Linked DNA regions of Homo sapiens: region 2 is linked to region 1. Evidence: promoter capture Hi-C in 16 types of primary human blood cells and fetal thymus (Javierre and others, 2016). All regions are on one chromosome and are shown on one strand. The core of a region is centred on a gene start or on the middle of the fragment in contact, and the rest is flanking DNA. Distances in the headings are between cores, read along the strand shown. Region 1 holds the start of GRXCR2 (glutaredoxin and cysteine rich domain containing 2). Region 2 overlaps SH3RF2 (SH3 domain containing ring finger 2).

Region 1 (2,700 bases), core at 38-2,537:
ACTCAGGAGGTGGAGGTTGCAGTGAGCCGAGATCGTACCACTGCACTCCAGCCTGGCAACAGAGTGAGACTCCGTCTCAAAAAAAAAAAAATAAAATAAAATAATAAAAAAAAAGAATCCAAGCGAATGGCTGTAGGGGAATAGGAGGGGTCAATTTGGGTAACTCAGTAAATGGTGATGCTGGTAGCAAAGACAGGGAGAAAGGCTTTACTCCACTTTCAGCTCCTCACATCCAACCTACCATTTTCTACCCAGCCCAAGGGCCCTTTTCTTTACAAACCTTCTTCCATCCTTGTCTCCTTAGAGACCACTTCCTTCCCAGAGTGGCTATTCTGGGATTCAGCTGTGGGCAGTTTGCTCTCTAAGCATGAGGTTATTATTTCACCTGTGTGAGGTCTGTATGGGATTGTAGGACTGTTCTCAGGCCCAGGTCACATGCTTCTGTGCTATTCACTCCAGCCACTAGTTCAGTGTCAGGCATTTACGAAGTCCAACAGGCAATGGGGACTTGTGCTGTGATTGCAAATGAAATCTTAAATGTAAAATACATACCAAGTGGAGGTGCTCTGGTTAGCGTAGGGGGAGAAGGCCCAGAATCCAGGACCCTCGGCCTTCTCCTGTTCTTAGCAGCAGCCTCCAAGAACCTCCACTGTATCTAGGACGTCATTCCCTCTTCTAGAACCAGAACTGGAAAACTTCTGGTTGTGTGGGCTGATCTTGGGTTTTGGAGTCAGATAGATCTGGGTTCAAATCCCTGCTCTGTCACTTACTTAGGTGTAATAGAGCAGACAAATGATGAAGATAAATGACAAGTGGCTCTAAGCCTCACTTTCCCCTGTGTAAAACAAAGGTAAGATTTTCTTTGTAGGGTTATCGTGAGGATGAAATAAAATAATGCATGTAACAATCTCTGGTACTTATGAAATGCTCACTAGATTTTAATTGTCATTGCTAACAATAAGAAGACACTTGTTAACTAATTGAGTGTCTGATCCTTATTGAATTGGCACATGTTCAGTCTAAATAAACTTCTTCATCCTCAGGTTAAGAAAGGTTAGGGTTGGGGTGAAGTCATGGTGAGCTTGGGATTATGAGAAGAATCAATCTTGTCTTATATTCCATCCACTCCATCAAACCAGAATCACCTGCCTTTTCATGAGGGTCTATCAATATTTAATGTATGGGTGTCAGTTGCTGTAAACTGACCATACCCCAGCAACAACTTGAATTAATTATATGCAGGAGGAGAGAAAATAAAATGCCTTTTTCTCAGAGGCCCAAGTTTCACCGGCTGCACGGAAGGCTGGAGACCACAGGGTCAACTTTCTGCTGATGGAGGACCCTGAGAAAAAGCTGAATCAGAAGAGTGATGGCAAACCCCGGAAAGTACGATTTAAAATCTCCTCCTCCTACAGCGGTCGAGTATTGAAGCAGGTCTTTGAGGATGGGCAGGAATTAGAGTCACCAAAGGAGGAATACCCTCACAGTTTTCTGCAAGAGTCTCTTGAAACAATGGATGGTGTTTATGGGTCTGGGGAAGTCCCCAGGCCCCAGATGTGCTCCCCTAAGCTGACTGCTCAGAGGATCAGTGTGTTTAGAGAGGGTAATGCCTACACCTTGGCAGGCGGCCAGCCTCGGTTCAACGATTACAAGGCGAATGACCATAAGGTTGGTATTGTGCATGGCATATAGGCTTTAAGGGTAGGGCTTCCTAAAACGTGTTTAGAGAAACTCCTAAATGGTTCAGATTTGTGTCTTGCTCCCCCTCCGGTACCAACCAGAACTGTTGGTGCACCAAATGGGAAGTTGTTATTAGACGAATATTTCTGGGGTAAAAATAACATGCTTGTTGACTACTAATTGGAAAGTGCAATGAGCATATATAGTATTCAAATTCCATCCAAGGTAATACATTGTAATTGGATCTTTGACTGAGTTTTCCTGGAATGTAAATTAAATAGAGGTGCAGTGGTTTTCAGGTTGTCAGACTGCGGTTTTAGACAATTATGCAGTCATTTTGTTTCCTGAAAGAGCTGAGTATTTGAAAGTGCTCATTTTACTCCAGCCAATTACTCAGCTTGCAGTTTATCCATGTCTTGTTTTTTACCCCTATTGCCTTCCTCATACTGCCTGCTTTGTCTATTTATTTTTCCTTTCCATTGCTCCTTAGCATAAGCTCTGGGTAGTTGGAGTCCTGGGAAGGGATGGTGAAACGCAAATCAGCCAGAGGATATGTTATGTGAGGAAGAAGTTTGAGCTAATGGTTCGATTGAAGAATGTGTTTAATCTATGAATTTCAATTACTTCCCAGTACCATGGATAATCAAAAGTCCATACATGATTTTCTTTTAAGGTAGAACCTGGAAAACATACACTGGTATCCAAAAATTCATAGGAGATGTATATATGCTGTCAGTGGGACCATGAATGACTTCTTAAAAAAGATAAAATACAATTATATAATGTATCCACGTTATTAATGAATAGCACACCAGGATGTGTTCTCATCTTTAAAGTGTGAAAGCCAGATAATTACTCTTGAATTATTTTTATTGTTAGTTTCCTAAGGGAATAGATAACACATCTATTGCAGACAAATGTATTACTGGCTTTACTGGCATTGGTAAAAGTATAATTATGGGCATGTTCACAATTACCGAAGATAACACTAGGCTTGTTTTTGATATTAAAAGGGGCTGA
Region 2 (2,764 bases), core at 64-2,563, 190 kb before region 1:
TTCCTCTTTCCTTTCACATCTCCTAGCCTGTTATATATCTGCTAGGCACCCATAGGTACAGTATTTGCTTTAGCCAGTCTCTATCTCAGGGCCTAATAAAGCGTTCTGTGGTACTGCTCAGGAATGATGTCTTTCTTCCATGTAATGCAACCCTAGTATCCCCCACTAAGATCTGAGTTTCTTCATACGTTCTGATCCTCCTAATATCTAGCCAAGGTCTGGGCATTTATGAAATGCTTATAGTTGTATCTAAAAGCTTGGAGTAATGGGCAACTGGGGCCTAGAAAACTCTGAATTATTTCTATAATTCAGAATAAGAACTCCCAACCTTTATATATGTCAGTGCTTTTTCCAATACCTTTCCCTATGAGCTGATAGCTTAGCAGTAAGAGCATGAGTTTTGCATCAGATCTGGATTCTACTCCACACGTATGTGTCAACTGTGCGGTCTTGGGTAATGTTCTTTAACTCCCTGAGCTGCCATTTCCTAATTTTAAAATGAGGATGAAACTAATGCCTATTTGAGAGGGTTGTTGTCAGGATTAAATATATGGGACACATGAAGTACTCAGCACAGTGCCTGCCAGCTTGTTAGTATTCGATAACTGGTTAACCAATGGGGGAATCGCATCCTCTTTCCGTTCTGAGGGGAATGGACGATGATGGTGGAATGATGCTGATGGCGGTGGTGATGGAGGTGGTGATGGCGATGATGTGATGATGGTGATGTTCATAAATTAAGACAGCAATAAGCATCACCTAACTTTCTTACTGTCCTCTCTTCCCACTATTCCTCCTGCTTCAAGGATATTATTGAGAACATAAGCCTTTTACAAAAACTCTCACGTCTTCTAGTGGGAAATATCCTGGACTAGAAGTTAACAGATCTGACGTCTGCCACAGAGGTCACAATAAGGTAGTTGGAGTCATTATCATTCAGTGTGACCTCGATGTCACTTACATTATCCTGTGCCTCAGTTGCCCCTTTTATACAATGCATAATTATGTGTCAAACCCTATGTAAGCACTTCACATATCTCGTTTAATCTCCACTCCATTACTGTGTGGCCATTACTCTTTCTACCTCCATTTTACAGATTATGCAAACTAAGTGACTCAGAAGGGTGAAGTATTTTGACCAAAGTCACCCAGCTAGCAAGCAGCAAAGCTAGAATTCAAAGCAAGATTCATCTAATGCCAAAGTCATGCTTTTTTTTCAAGCCACTTTTGGGCCTCAAAAGATGTATAAAATATTCAGGAAACATAAAGGCGAATCAGTAACACATGTAGGGAGGGCGTGGGTGATGTTGGGGATGTTGGCCATGGCTCAGTGGGGAGTTGGGGAGGAGGAGTGTTATGTGTGAGGATTCTTTCGAGGCTGCAATTTTGGTTCCTTGTTCACCAACACTAAAATCTCTGAGCTGAGACACTATGCATAGTACGGGATCGAAAGAGTTGGGCCCCCAATGTCACTCTGATCCTACCTTTTCGATGCCATTTCTTGAGTTTTCTGGTTTCACCAGGATGGATGGTGGGGCAGATGCGGGCGGTTTTGGCAGAGGCTCACTCTTGATGGGGATTTCTTTGTCTTCCATAATGAGGGAGCTGGCCGCGGAGTGGATCCAGGCCTCACTGCCCCTGCTGATGCACGTGAGGGCGGGCTCCCCCGTGAGGGCAGGCTTGGACCCCATCTCCACCACCACGGCTGAGGGGGAGGAGGGGATCCCCTGTGGCTGGTAGAATTGGAACTGCTGAGGCCGAAGGACCATGGTGGGGCTGCGTCTGAGGGAGCCTACCACGAGAGTGGGGATCCCGGACTGGAGGGGTCTCTGCAGGGATCCATCTGGGGAATTATAGGACAGAGAGATCAGCAGCAGGGGCGGCTGGCAGTAGGTTGGGTGGGGCTGGGTAAGCAGTGCTTCCTGATATCCCAGAATAGACAAGCGCTTTCCTAATCTGACTGCACTCACATTCTCTCCGGGTCTTTCAAAGGTGACCTTATTCTTTTTTTAGTGCTGTTTGCTGATGCTGGCAGCAAATATCTCTCTGGCTGAATGGTGTGTGTGAGTGTGTATGTGTGTATGTGTGTAGGGGGGCTGTCAGAAGGTATATTGCTTCCATTTGCCTTGTGATACACACACACACACGCACACACACACGTACACACACACACGCGCGCGTGAAGCAGACACAGAGGCAGTCAGACCAAATAGGAAACACATGACAGAATCAGAGATAGGAAATAGAAGACATTGAGAAACACAAAGGAGAGGCAACCGAGAAGAATGAGAGAGAGGAAAAGGAGAAAGAGAGGAGGAGAGAGGAAAACTCTGCCCAGCGACTTGCTGTGAAAATCTTGACAGAAGCTTTAGGCATGTGGCAGGTGGGGGTTGCTTTTTGTCGGGGGCTGCAGGGAGAAAGGGTGAGTGGCAAGGGCTAGGCAAGCACAACAGCAGACAAAGGCAAATTTGGAAAGGTTATTCCACAGTTAGGGCTGTGAGGATGGGCTTTGCAATGTCTCATGACAGAGGATCTGGAATCAGACCTCCTCCTGGAAAGCCTGGGATGAGTTAAGTCACGTCACCTCTCTGCACCTCAGTTCTCTCGTTTGTAAGCTGGAGATAATAACAGTACATCATTGGGCTGCTGTGAGGATTGCATTCTATTTGGTGTGCAAAGTATCAGGATAGTGCCTGGAATATGATAAATGCCGCATGTCTGTTAGCTATCATTATTTTTGGGTAAAGGATCACATATCCTAAAA

What was found. Contacts are between HindIII fragments. The CHiCAGO score rates a contact against its expected background, and 5 or more counts as called.
Region 2: a contact is called between a fragment that was not itself captured here and the fragment with the promoter of GRXCR2 in region 1, in 1 of 17 cell types (M0 macrophages). The highest score is 5.3, in M0 macrophages.

Annotation. Positions count from the first base shown.
Region 1 is chr5:145,871,601-145,874,300 of GRCh38, reverse strand. GRXCR2 (glutaredoxin and cysteine rich domain containing 2) reads left to right here and starts at 1,287. Exons shown (of 3, transcript NM_001080516.2): 1 at 1,287-1,668. The coding sequence starts at 1,333. The HindIII fragment of the contact is 6,212 bases long and covers 1-2,700 here.
Region 2 is chr5:146,058,945-146,061,708 of GRCh38, reverse strand. It overlaps SH3RF2 (SH3 domain containing ring finger 2), which reads right to left. Exons shown (of 10, transcript NM_152550.4): 9 at 1,485-1,843. All of the region lies in intron 1 of LOC107986458 (a long non-coding RNA gene), which reads left to right. Among named protein-coding and RNA genes, the nearest start is that of PLAC8L1, 45 kb to the left of the region's middle. The HindIII fragment of the contact is 2,110 bases long and covers 259-2,368 here.